Regions from separate parts of the Homo sapiens genome. Here region 1 is linked to region 2. Evidence: promoter capture Hi-C in 16 types of primary human blood cells and fetal thymus (Javierre and others, 2016). All regions are on one chromosome and are shown on one strand. The core of a region is centred on a gene start or on the middle of the fragment in contact, and the rest is flanking DNA. Distances in the headings are between cores, read along the strand shown.

Region 1 (6,714 bases), core at 2,142-4,641, 620 kb before region 2:
ATGGTTCTCCTTATGTCTTTCGTGTTCATTGCAAGTCACAGCTGGAAAGAAGCTGCAGCGAAGCCACCTCTGGTGCTTCTCAGAGCAGCATAGACCTGACACCCACTGTGGGCGGGTGAAAGGAACGCCTCGCAGTTTTATGGAGCTTCGCGGCCTCCTCCCAGAGCCGCGCCTGATTGGACAATTTGCACAGCCACACCCCCCCGCCCCTCCTGATTGGACAGTGCCACGGGCCCCGCCTTCTGGGAGGCGGAGTGAGAGGAGAATTTAACACCTGGCTGAGTGGAGCTTGAATGAAAGGTTCTAGGCCCGACATGTGGCTCACACCTATACAATCCCAGGACTCGGGGAGGGCTGGAAAGGAGAACTGCTTGAGGCCAGGAGTTCAAGACCAGCTTGAGCAACGTAGTGAGACCTCATCTCTAAAAAAAAAAGAAAAAAAAAAAAAATTAGCCCAGCCTGGTGGCCCTGCAACTATAGTCCCAGCTACTTAGCAGGCTGAGTAAAGAGGATTGCTTGAACCTTGAAGGTAGAGGCTGCAGTTAGCTATGATCAGCGCACTGCACTCCAGCCTAGGTGACAGAGTAACACCCTGTCTCGAAAAAAAAAAAAAAGAAAAGAAAAGAAAAGAAAAATATAGATTCTAGCCACAGCCGGATTTCCTCCTTGCACTGCAGCCTGGCCCCCACCCTGGGGATACTGGTATTTCAGAATATGTTTCAGGCTTTCCAGAGCTGACACTGTTGTCTTCCTGTACTCAGTGGGCCCTTCTTTCAGGGGAGGTGGGGGTGGGGGGAGGGGGTTTGAGGTGGGGAGGTTGTCTGCCTTGAGGTCTAGTCAGGCCAACACTGGAAGAGGAGAGAGGCCTGATGTCGTCAGAGATTATAAATTTGGGATGAGGGATAGCCAAAGATTTTTCATACTTTATCTCTCAGTCTACTCATTTTCACTCAAGAAAACAACAAGCCAACAACAGAATAAAACTAAGTGCATGGAAAAGCTGGAATTATATGGCAGCTATATATATACACATATATATACATATATGTGTATATATATACTTATATATGTGTTTGTATATATACACATATATGTGTATATATACAAACACATATATAAGTGTGTGTGTGTATATATATATATATATATATATATATATATATATATATATGTTTTTTTTTTTTTGAAACGGAGTCTCGCTCTGTCGCCCAGCTGGAGTTCAGTGGCACAATCTCAGTTCACTGCAACCTCCATCTCCCGGGTTCAAGCGATTCTCCTGCCTCGGCCTCCTGAGTAGCTGGGATTACAGGCGTGTGCCACCACGCCCGGCTAATTTTTGTATTTTTAGTAGAGACGGGGTTTCACCATGTTGGTCAGGCTGGTCTCGAACTCCTGACTTCGTGATCCGCCCGCCTCGGCCTCCCAAAGTGCTGGGATTACAGGCGTGAGCCACCGCGCCCAGCCGGCAGCAATATTTTATAAAGGAATCAAAAGAAAAGTAAAGCAAACATTTGAAGTAGTTCAGATAAGCAGCCTGCTTCATGCACAGTTCACAAGGAAAACCCTCTGTCAGAAGGTAAATGATATTTCCAAGCTTGGAAGCCAAACTGTGACTGCTGAAATGGAGCCCCCCAGGGCGGGTCAGTCCCAGATGATGAGGCAGAGAAAATTAAGGATTTATCTGGGAGTTTGAAATGCCCTTCTGTCCCCTCCTCAGTTTAGAAATTATTCTCTCCTTTAAGACCTTCATTTTCACCAACAGGAAGCTCTCGACTTGAGTCAGTTTAAGCTAAATTTACTGTTAAATTCATAAACCCGCAGGGCGCGGTGGCTCACGCCTGTAATCCCAGCACTTTGGGAAGCCGAGGCGGACGGATCACGAGGTCAGGAGATCGAGACAATCCTGGCTAACACGGTGAAACCCCGTCTCTACTAAAAATACAAAAAATTAGCCGGGCGTGGTGGCAGGCGCCTGTAGTCCCAGCTACTTGGGAGGTTGAGGCAGGAGAATGGCATGAACCCGGGCGGGAGGCGGAGCTTGCAGTGAGCCGAGATTGCGCCACTGCACTCCAGCCCGGACGACAGAGCGAGACTCCGTCTCAAAAAAAATGATAATAAATACAATAAAATAAAATAATAAATAAAAATTCATAAACCCTTTCTCCAGGAGGCATCCCAAATGGGTCTTGCTCTAATTCTGACCTTCACAGATTTTCTTTTTCTTTTTCTTTCTTTTTTTTTTTTGAGACAGTCTAGCCCTGTCGCCCAGGCTGGAGTGCAGTGGCGCAATCTCGGCTCACTGCAAGCTCCGCCTCCCGGGTTCACGCCATTCTCCTGCCTCAGCCTCCCGAGTAGCTGGGACTATAGGCGCCCGCCACCGCACCCGACTAATTTTTTGTATTTTTAGTAGAGACGGGGCTTCTCCGTGTTAGCCAGGATGGTCTTGATTTCCTGACCTCGTGATCCGCCCGCGTCGGCCTCCCAAAGTGCTGGGATTATAGGCGTGAGCCACCGCTCCCGGCCGTAAAGATTTTTAAATAATAAAAACAGGGGTCTAGGGTGGGGGGATGTGGGAGGGATAACATTAGGAGATATACCTAATGTAAATGACGAGTTAATGGGTACAGCACACCAACATGGCGCATGTATACATATGTAACAAACCTGCACATTGTGCGCATGTACCCTAGAACTTAAAGTTTAATAAATAAAAATTAAAAAAAAAAAACAACAAAACAGGGGTATTCTTGTGTTGACCAAGTTGGTCTTTAACTCTTTACTTTAAGGGATCCTCCAGTCTTGGCCTCCCAAAGTGCTAGGATTACAGGCGTGAACCACCGCACCCTGCCTGTGTTCAGGTCACAATCTCTTCTAGCTTGGATAAAGGGAAAGAAATAAAGGGGGAGAGGGCATGGTTTCATCAATGGAGATTCTCTGCAGATGCAAATTCCCCCCCTCCAAAGACAGCTTTGCCAGTCCACTTTTTTTTGCGGCCGAGCCACAGCCATTTCAAAATCTGTCAAATAAATATATTTTGGCGTAAAATATTTTAATTTCCTTCACCTCCACTGGACTCTGAGTCTGGAATTTCCTGTGCAAGACAAAGGAGCAGGGACAGCCCATTGAGTGAGGAAGACAACGGTACCCCCTCTAGCAATTCGGAGCAAATTTGGCTGAAATGCAAATACCCAAAGAGCAAGACGCAGGGAGGGAGCTCGCTTAGATAATCTGTGGTTGGAACAGGTCATTTCGGTTCTGCCGGGCCTTGTTACCCAGGGCTTCCGCTGTCACTCAGGACCGATGGGACGGGGACTGGAGCCTCATCCAATCAGGGGCGCTGGGGCGGGGTCCTGCCAACTGTCCATCCGGGGAAGGGGAGGCCGCATTCCCGCTTTCCTGACTCCCAGGCGTCTTGCACCAAAGGGAGGTCGGGATCTCGGTTTTCCGGCCCCGAGAGGGACCAGGTGCCTCCGCCATAGCTTCTGTCGCTCCATCGCCCGCACTGTGACTGGACTGTTAGAGGGATCCGTGGAGAGGAGGCCAGGACACCTGGAAGCCGGGAAATGGTGAGTGTGCGGGGCCGGGGGTCCCGAGACGGGGGAGGGGCCGGGAGGAACCGGCTCGAACCGGCTCTAGCAGGACCCAGGCCTTCCTGCAGCGACTTCGGGTCTGCAGAGCGGAGTCCCCCTGGCGTAGCTCGGCCCTCGGTCCCTTCGGCCGCAGGGTGGGGTTGGGCCGGCAGCCGGGACCCCAGGCGTCCTGTCCCGTCTCTGCGCTGCGACTGCGACCCCGGCCCTGGCCCCGGCCCCGGAGCCCTCTCTGGGGAGCTCCGCGCCCGTAGTCCCGCGTCTCCCCAGATTGTGCGGAGACCACGGGAGGGTCATGGAGGCAATCCTGCCTCGGGTGTGTGGTTCGTGTGGGAGGAGCGGTGGGCTGCGGGGTCCCCAGTCCCCCCTTTTTTCCTGAAAAACTAAATTGAAGGCCAGGCGCAGTGGGTCACGCCTGGCAGGTTGAGGCGGGGGGATTGCTTCAGCCCAGAAATTCGAGACCAGCCTAGGCAACATACCGAGACCCTAGTTTCTATTAAAAATAAATTTTTAAAAAATGAGCCGGGCGTGGTGCCGCCCACCTGTAATCCCAGCTACTGGGGGGCTGAGGTGGGAGGATCGCTTGAGGGAGGAGATTGGGACTGCAGTGAGCCGAGATCGCGCCACTGCACTCCAGCCTGGGCGACTGAGCGAGACCCTGTCTCAAACAAAACAAAACAAAAACAACAGCAACAAACTAAACTGAGTCCTCTTAAAAATTAAAGAGTTTTGCTTCTCAGAATAGGAGTTTGAAAAAAATGAATGAGAAATGTTTCCTGAATGAGAAACACCCAGTCATGGCTTGCAGTTTGATAACGGAAAGAGCAAAACTCTGCAAAATAACTTGAACTATGTTCTACGCCGAATATGAGAGAACGTGACCAAGGGAAACAACCGCATGTAGCCTCGAGTAAGTGGTCCCCAGGAGGTTCGATGGCAGTTTGGTTTTATTCATTTCAGCGAGACAGGAATTGCAGGGAAAAGATCAATCAAGGCATGGAAGGCTGACAGGGCAGGACACGTAGAAGCGGGGCTTAGAAGGCACAGGTGGTTGAGGGATTCTGTAGTTGGCAGTTGGCTGAGAGTGTGAAGTTGTGTCTAAAATTTGAAAGGGGTAGGAAGGAATGTTTAAGTGAAGGGAGTCTGTTACCTGCCACGTGATTCCATCCCCACCAAAAAACAGATATGTTTCACTAGATTTTATGAATTCTAAGGCGTGACTTTACCCTTGCCTTGCATGGCCTTAGGTCTTGTTTGCAATTTAGTATTTATTGGTACAAAGGGTTTCTTTGCAGGTTTTTTTTTTTTTTTGAGATGGAGCCTCACTCTCGCCCAGGCTGGAGTGCAGTGGCGCAATCTCGGCTTACGGCAACCTCCGCCTCCTAGGTTCAAGCAATTCTCCTGCCTCAGCCTCCCAAGTAGCTGGAATTACAGGTGCACGCCACCATACCCGGCTAATTTCTGTATTTTTAGTAGAGATGGGGTTTCACCATGTTGGCCAAGCTGGTCTCAAACTCCTGACCTCAAATAATCCGCCTGCCTCCGCCTCCCTCCGCCTCCCAAAGTGCTAGGATTACAGGACTGAGCCACTGTGCCCGGCCTCTTTGCAGGTCTTATGTCTATTTTAATATGAATGTGGGTCAGTTGCTGTGTCTAAACTCCAGAAGGGAGTATGGAGTGTCTGATCTCCCTTACTAATGTAACTGGGAACTTTCAGGTTTTTGGGGGGCCTCCCCTTGGTAAAGAGCCACTCAGTTGACTTGATTGGGGTGGGATGGGGAGCTTAGGTTTTTATTTTTAGTTTACAGGTTGAAGGATAGGCTTTTATATGGTGCATTAGAATAAAAATCAAAAAATACTTTATTGGTTACAGTGATGTAGTCGCCTTGTTTGGATTTTTCTACCTTAAATGATTGAAATGATCAGATTCCTATTATAAGGAGATTATTTAAGTGAAAATCTGAGAATTGCCATTCAAGAAAATACAGACTCTAGGGAAATGGGCTTAGAACTCCGGAGCTAAAAGTTAAACTCTTGACCTAGTGCAGTGTCCCACACCTGTAATCCCAGCTTTGTGAGGCTGAGGCAGGATGATTGCTTGAGACCAGGAGTTGGAGACCAGCCTTGGTAATACAAGACCCATGTCTAGAAAAGAAAAATAGAAAAATTAGACAGGTGTGGTTGCACCCACCTGTAGTTCCTGATACAAGGGACACTGAGGCAGGAGGATCACTGGACCCCAGGAGTTTGATGCTGCAGTGAGCCATTATCAAATTTGACATTCCAGCTTAAGACACTGTGATGGCCATGAAGTCTTTGTGTGAGAAAGGTAAGAGGAAAGTTAATCTATAATGAAGATCAAGAGAAAAGAGGCCCTTCCTGGCTCTGTTCAGGCATTTTCAATATTTTACAAAAGAATATAGGTAAGGGCTGGGCGGGGTGGCTCACGCCTATAATCCCAGCACTTTGGGAGGCTGAGGCGGGTGGATCACAAGGTCAGGAGATTGAGACCATCCTGGCTAACATGGTAAAACCCCGTCTCTACTAAAAATACAAAAAATTAGCCGGACATGGCGGCAGGTGCCTGTAGTCCCAGCTACTCGGGAGGCTGAGGCAGGAGAATGGCGTGAACCCGGGAGGGAGAGCTTGCAGTGAGCTGAGATCACCCCACTGCACTCCAGCCTGGGGGACAGAGCAAGACTCCGTCTCAAAAAAAAAAAAAAAAAAAAGAAATATAAAACTAACATAAGTCTTTTGCCTTTTTGTATTTCTGCCTCAGTTTGTACACCGGTATGGGCAGTGACAGTCTATATGCCTGCCAGAATCACTGCATGTATTTTTTTTTTTTTTTGACACAGAGACTCCCTCTGTCACCCAGGCTGGAGTGCACTGGCACAATCTCAGCTCACTGCGACCTCCCCCTCCCAGGTTCAAGCGATTCTCCTGCCTCAGCCTCCCAAGTAGCTGGAATTACAGACCTGCGCCACCATACCCGGCAATTTTTGTATTTTTAGTAGAGACAGGGTTTTGTTATGTTGGCCAGGCTAGTCTTGAACTCCTGACCTCAGGTGATCCACCCGCCTTGGCTTCCCAAAATGCCGGATTACAGGCATGAACTACTGCACCC
Region 2 (6,368 bases), core at 470-2,969:
TCTCTGGTTAGTGGTGGGGGCTTGTCTCTGTCTTAGCCCCCACCCCTTGCACGTCTGTATGTCTCTCTCCCTCTTATCCCCCCGACTCCTCTGTCTCTCTCTTCCCCAGCGCTGTCTTTTCTTGGCCCAGTCTTGGGTCCCCATCTCTCTAGGTGGCTAGTCCCTGTCTGGCCAGGGGTAGGGCTCCTGGGTCTTGTATATCTGCCTCTCTAGGTCTTTCTCTGTCTCCAGGTTTCCTGCCTGGGGTGGGGGTGGTGGGGCTCTGTCTCCTCTCCCTGCCCCTCCATCCTTGTCTAGGTCTTATCTCGCTCCTGGCTCGCCCTCCCCCGTCTGTCCCTAGGGTGTCTCAGGCTCCCAGTATCTCTGTCTGCCTCTCCCCCCACCTCCCTGCTTTTCCCTCTCTCCACTGTCCCCCCCCTCCCCCACTCCACTCCCATTTCTCCAGAACCCTCCGCCCAAGCCCAGCCAGGCTCCCAGCCCCTAGGGGACCGGGCTGCCTCTTCTTCTCCCGGGTGAGTGGGGGGAGGTGGGAGGGGCGGCCCCCTCACCTGGCCCTGGCCCTGCCGCCCCCCACGCCACCAGCCCGGCTTTATAAAGCAAACCGGCCCTTATATAGCGTGGCCCGGGCTCCCCGAGGCCGCCTTATAAGGCGCGGCGTCTCTGCGCGGCTCTGCGCGGCTCTGGGGCCGGCGCTGGGGGGGAGGAGGGCGGCGCTGGGATCTGTCTCTCGCCCGAGGACCCGCCCCCCACCAGCCCCCTCCTCCAGCCCCGAGATCCCTCGACCCAGGTTCCAACCCAGTCCCCCACTTCCTCACCATGGGACCCTGGGAAAAGCCACCCTGAGCCTCAGTGTTCCCCTCTGTCAAATGGGGCAGGAACTCCTCCCTCGGCAATACTGTTGGGGCGATTCCAGTGGGCTGGAAACTTAAAGTTCTCCAGCTGGGAGAAGCTGAGCCCATCCTGGTGTATGGGGGGTGAGTCCAGGGTCCGAGCGCTGTACCTGCTTTACCTGGGACCCCAGCTATTTGCCTCTCCTCTCCGAACCTCAGTTTACCCAACCATAGCATGAAGGTGGTGTCCAGGTATCTTCCTAGCTCCACAGTCAGGAGACCCCTGCCGCACTTCTGATGCCCGCTTCCTGCCTTTCACCGTCCCCCTCTGTCTTCAGGATCTCCCACACTTTCACGGCGTCACTTCCCAGGTACCCCAGCACTCAAGCGCTCCCCAATTTCTTTGTCAGGCCGGGGGATATGGAAAAATCAACAAGTCTTCCCCCTATGTTGTTCCCCCCAAGAACACGAAGGGTTAACAGAAGACTGATCAGGTGGGTATCTTTGCAATGGACTGACCCCCTCTGTTTATGTGTGGCTGTGTGCCCCCCCATTCCAGCCCCAACCATAGCTGGGGGCTCCGGGATGTTCAGGGGGAGACAGGCAGCCCCTATCCCATATCACTCCCTTTTCCCCTCTCAGTTTCCAAGTCACATAGGATAGGCAGGAGGGGGTTCAAGGGACCCCAAGCTCAGGGCTCTGGCCTGGCAGGACGTGTGGGCCAGGCCAGGGAGGCCCTCCAGCCCTACCTTGTTCTTAACCTCGGCTGACAGCCCGTAGGCAGGGCCTCGGTTGAAGTGAGCAGAGGACATGCTGGCCGGTGGGCTCTGGCGGGGGCAGTGGCGGCACTGACGCTGAGAACAGAGGCAGCGGCTGAAGTTCCGTCTGCACACTCTTCCCTCCTCACATGTTTTTGAAGCTCCGGAGGCGACCCGGGTCTCTTCCAGGGCCGTTCCATTGGCTGTAGGGGCCTGCCAAGGGGCGGGGCACCTCCCCCCACAACCTCAGCTGCCTTCCCCTCCCCTTGTGATGTCAGGCCCTTGGTATTGGGAGCTGATTGTGTCATTGTTTCCACCTAGGGGGGCAGCCTGCGTTATTCTGGGGGGGCTTGGTCAGACAGAGACCAGCCTTCTTCCACCCACCCCTCCCACTGTCCATTGGGCCTCTGGCTGGGTCTGAGTCTCTTTGTCTCTGAGGTCATCTCTCTTTATCTCTCTGGAGTCTTGAAGCAGGACTGACACCCAAGGTAGTTTAGTGAGCACCATCCCGGGTTTATCTCCAGATACCAACAGTCTATAGCCTTAGGTAAGCCCCTTCTCCTCTCTGGGCCTCTATGGCCACATCTGTAAAATGGGCTAACGATAGTGCCTGCCTCATGGGAGAGTTGTAAAGATCAGAAGAATATGCCTGTTACATGCCCAGCACAGTGCCCGGCACAGCAGAGGGACTCGGGCCATAGCAGTCTTTTTAAGGCAAGGTTTCACTCTGTCCCCTCGGCTGGAGTGCAGTGGCACAATCACAGCTCACTGCAGCCTTGACCTCCCAGGCTCAAGTGATCCTCCCATCTCAGCCCATCCAAGTAGTTAGAATTGCAGACTTGTGCCACCAACCTGGCTAATTTTATTTTATTTTTTTAGAGATGGGGTCTCGCTATGTTGCCCGGGGTCTCGCTATGTTGCCCAGGCTGGTCTCAAATTTCTGGGCTCAAGCAATCTGCCCGCCTTGGCCTCCCAAAACGCTGGGATTTACAGGCATGAGTCACCATGCCCAGCCTATAGCATTCTTTATGCTGAGGGTCCAGCACCCCAGTTCTGTCTCCTCCAGCCCCTCATAAGGACCTGGGGGAGAAGAGATCCTGGGTCTCACCCTCCCCATCCACTTGTGTGTCACCTGAACTACAGGGTGACTTTGTTGGCAAGTCCCAGGCCGTGAACTGTGTCCCTGTCAAACAGCCCTACCCAGCCAGATCTCACCCCTGGACCACAGGGGTGGATGCTATGCCCACATCATGCCCCACATGGCAAGGCCATGTTTGTGACACTTGGATGACATGTCTGCAACCTGCCACACACTAATGATATGTTGAGGATATGCAGTTTATCGGTCACATGCTAATGGCATGGCTGCAATATGCCACAGACTACAGCCCTTATGTCAGGCCATGTTCCAACTCTGTACATATATCCATTCAATTCTCATGACGCCCTCAGAGATGGACACTGTTATTATTATTATTATTATTATTATTATTATTATTTGGAGACAGAGTCTCTATTCCCCAGGCTGGAGTGCAGTGATGCTATCTCGGCTCACTGCAACCTCCACCTCCTGGGTTCAAGCGATTCTCCTGCCTCAGCCTCCCAAGTAGCTGGGATGACAGGTGTCTGCCACCACGACTGGCTATTTTTTGTATTTTTAGTAGAGACGGGGTTTTGCCATGTTAGCCAGGCTGGTCTCGAACTCCTGACCTCAGTTGATCTGCCCACCTCGGCCTTGCAAAGTGCTGGGATTACAGGCGTGAGCCACCGTGCCCAGCTGACACTGTTATTATTAATACAAGTACTTTGCTTTACAGGTGGGGAAACTGAGGCACGGGGGCTTGGAATCACTTTTTCAGCGTCACACAGCAGGCCAGGGGCAGAGGAGAATTTGAGACCATGCTCCATGAACCTCAACTATGAGGCTAAGGTGGGGTTTCTCAACCTCCACACTGTTGACAGCTGAGGCTGGATAATTCTTCATGGTTGGGGGGCTGCCTTGGGCATTCATTGTAAGACTTCAAGCAGCATGCCTGGCCTCTACCTGCTACATGCCAGTAGCACTCTCTTAGTCCTAATAAACAGAAATGTTGAGGCACTGCGGCAGGACCCTGTAGTCCCAGCTACTAAGGAGGCTGAGGTGGGAGGATCCCTTGAGCCCAGGAGTTTGAGAACCATCTGGCCAAGATAGCAAGACCATGGTCTCTAAAAAAGAAAAATTAAAAGAAGAAATGTCTACACACATTGCCAATGTCCCATGATTGGGGTCGGGGTGGAAGCAGATCACCCCTGTTTGCCAACCACTGAGCTAAGGCAATGTGCTAGTTGATGGCATGTCATGATATGTTGAACATACACGAAAATACATAAAATACGAGGCCAAGGCGGGAGGATCGCTTGAGCCCTGGAGTTCGAGACCCGAGACCAGCTTAGGCAACATAGCGAGACCCCGTCTCTATTTAAAAAAAAAAAAAAGAAAAAATAGAAAGTACATAAAATGAGCTAACAATTAGCACCTGCTACGTACTAAGAGCTTTGAGCCTGTTAACTCATTCCTCACGACAGCCTTATGAGGTGGGTCTATACGAGGCACAGAGAGGTGACGCCGAATGGCCGGGTCACACAGCTCGAGGGTGGCAGGGGCGGGATTCGAACGCGCAGATTCCTGGATCCCTCCCAAACTGAGCGGCCCTCGGGGGCCGCAGTTCGCTACTGCGCATGTGAGGACCTGCAGCCGGCGCCCCCTGGCGGCCCGGGAGGGGCGGGGGCGGGACCTGGCGAGGTCCAGGCGGCGGTGACGTCACGCGATGACTCACTCGGCCCCGCCCCCCGGCCCGCGGCCTCTTGGCCATTTATAGAATCTGCACGGACTCTGAAGTCACGGCCCAGGCACGACGGGGGCGGGGTGGGGGAGCTCTTGGCGTGCCCCCCAACGGGGCAGCCCCGGGTACCCCCAGGGGGCAGCCCTTTCGGGGACTGCCTTGTCCCTCTGATTGTAGTAGGTCTGTGTCTCTGTATCTCCGTCTCTGGGTCGCTGAGCCTTTTTCTGTCTCTGCCTTTGTCTCTGTGTCTCTGTTTCTGTGCCTGGTCTTTGAGTCATTCTGTTTCTCTTCATGTCGCTGTCGCTGTATTGTCCGTCTCTCTTCGCGTCTCTGTCTGGTAGATGGGGGTAGAGGCATTAGAGGGGGCTGATCCCATATCGAGGCCCCAATCCCAGTAGACACCCGAGTGTCATCCCTTATTCGCTCCTTTCTGGCATTTTCCAGGCTCTAGCCCCTCTGTGCCTCAGTTTACCATCTAAATGAGAAGTGTAGGATCTTGTAAGAGGCACGGTTTCCCGAAGGGTCTAGGACAGTCATTGTAGGAAAGCCATGCCTCTCCTCAACTTCAGGGGACCCCCTAAAACCTTCCTGATGCTCAGAACCATTTAAAACTCACACTTGGCCGGGCGTGGTTTCTCACGCCTGTAATCCCAGCACTTTGAGAGGCCAAGGCGGGTGGATCACCTGAGGTCAGTAGTTCAAGACCAGCCTGACCAACATGGTGAAACCCCGTGTCTACTAAAAATACAAAATTAGCCGGGCATGGTGGTACATGCCTGTAATCCCAGCTACTCGGGAGGCTGAGGCAGGAGAATTGCTTGAACCCGGCATGTCAGGCAGAGGTTGCAGTGAGCCAAGATCACACCACTGCACTCCAGCCTGGGCCACGGGAGTGAGACTCTGACTCAAAAAATGTAAAAATAAAAATAAAACCCACACTCACACGTGTTTGTCTGTGTGTTTTGGGGAAAGTCAAAGCCCTGCTCTGCACCGGCCTATCTTGGCATCCTGCTCTGCAAGCTCCCTCCTCACGAAGCTTTCCTATCCAGAAATCTGGCAGAGGCTCTTGTTCCTAAAGGCTTCTGTTATGGGAACACTCACTCCATGCCAGCCACAATCTCTTTTAATCCTCACCATCACCTTCTGAGGGTAGAAACTCATAGGTCCATTTTATAGATGGGAAACTCAAGGTTCAGAGAAGCCAAGCCACCCTCCCAGGTAACACTGTTTGTACCTTTTCTTCCAAGTCCCTCCAGATGTGCTGTTTCTTCTTCTTCTTCTCCCTCTTCTTCTTCTTCTTCTTTCTTCTTTCTTCTTTCTTCTCCTTCTCCTTCTCCTTCTTTCTTCTTTCTTCTTTCTTTTCTTCCTCTTCCTCTTCCGCTGCTGCTGCTGCTCCTTCTCCTTCTCCTTCTTCTTCCTCTTCTTCTTCCTCTTCCTCTTTTTCTTCTTGTTCTCCTTCTTCTTCCTCTTCTTCTGCTGCTGCTTCTCCTCCTCCTCCTTCTTCTTCTTTCTTCTTTCTTCCTTCTCCTCCTCCTTCTCCTTCTTCCCCTTCTCCCTTCTCTCTTCTCCCTTCTCCTTATTTCTTCTTCTTCTTCTCCTTTTTTTTTTTTTTTTGAGTCAGAGTATCGCTCTGTCGCTCAGGTTGGAGTGGCATGATCTCGGTTCACTGCAACCTCCACCTCCTGGTTTCAAGCAATTCTGGAGCCTCAGCCTCCCAAGTAGCTGGGATTACAGGCACCCGCTACCACGCTGGGCTACAGATGTGTTTCTTGAGTCCCCAAACATGTTCCCACCTCAGGGTCTTTACAATAGCAGTTCCTGCCACCTGGAACACATTTCTGCAAGATGCCTGCATGGCCTCTCCCCAACTTCATTCAGTCTCTGCTCTAATATCACCTCTCAGAGAGGCCTTCCCTGACCACCTGCTGTAAAATAATAGCATCTCTCACCCCCAGACT

The links. The method cuts DNA at HindIII sites, captures the fragments that hold promoters and counts their contacts. A CHiCAGO score of 5 or more calls a contact.
Region 1: a contact is called between the fragment with the promoter of ZNF625-ZNF20 here and the fragment with the promoter of CNN1 in region 2, in 2 of 17 cell types (neutrophils and total B cells). The highest score is 6.9, in neutrophils.

The regions. Positions count from the first base shown.
Region 1 is chr19:12,153,408-12,160,121 of GRCh38, reverse strand. It overlaps ZNF625-ZNF20 (ZNF625-ZNF20 readthrough (NMD candidate)), which reads left to right and starts at 3,391. Exons shown (of 8, transcript NR_037802.1): 1 at 3,391-3,566. ZNF625 (zinc finger protein 625) reads left to right here and starts at 3,388. Exons shown (of 4, transcript NM_145233.4): 1 at 3,388-3,566. The coding sequence starts at 3,564. RefSeq lists enhancers at 3,362-3,471, 3,034-3,725 and a silencer at 3,702-3,871. The HindIII fragment of the contact is 6,672 bases long and covers 1,597-6,714 here.
Region 2 is chr19:11,534,202-11,540,569 of GRCh38, reverse strand. It overlaps CNN1 (calponin 1), which reads right to left and starts at 1,719. Exons shown (of 7, transcript NM_001299.6): 1 at 1,580-1,719. The coding sequence starts at 1,642. RefSeq lists silencers at 694-743, 4,172-4,541, 4,552-4,621 and an enhancer at 1,803-2,748. The HindIII fragment of the contact is 23,519 bases long and covers 1-5,448 here.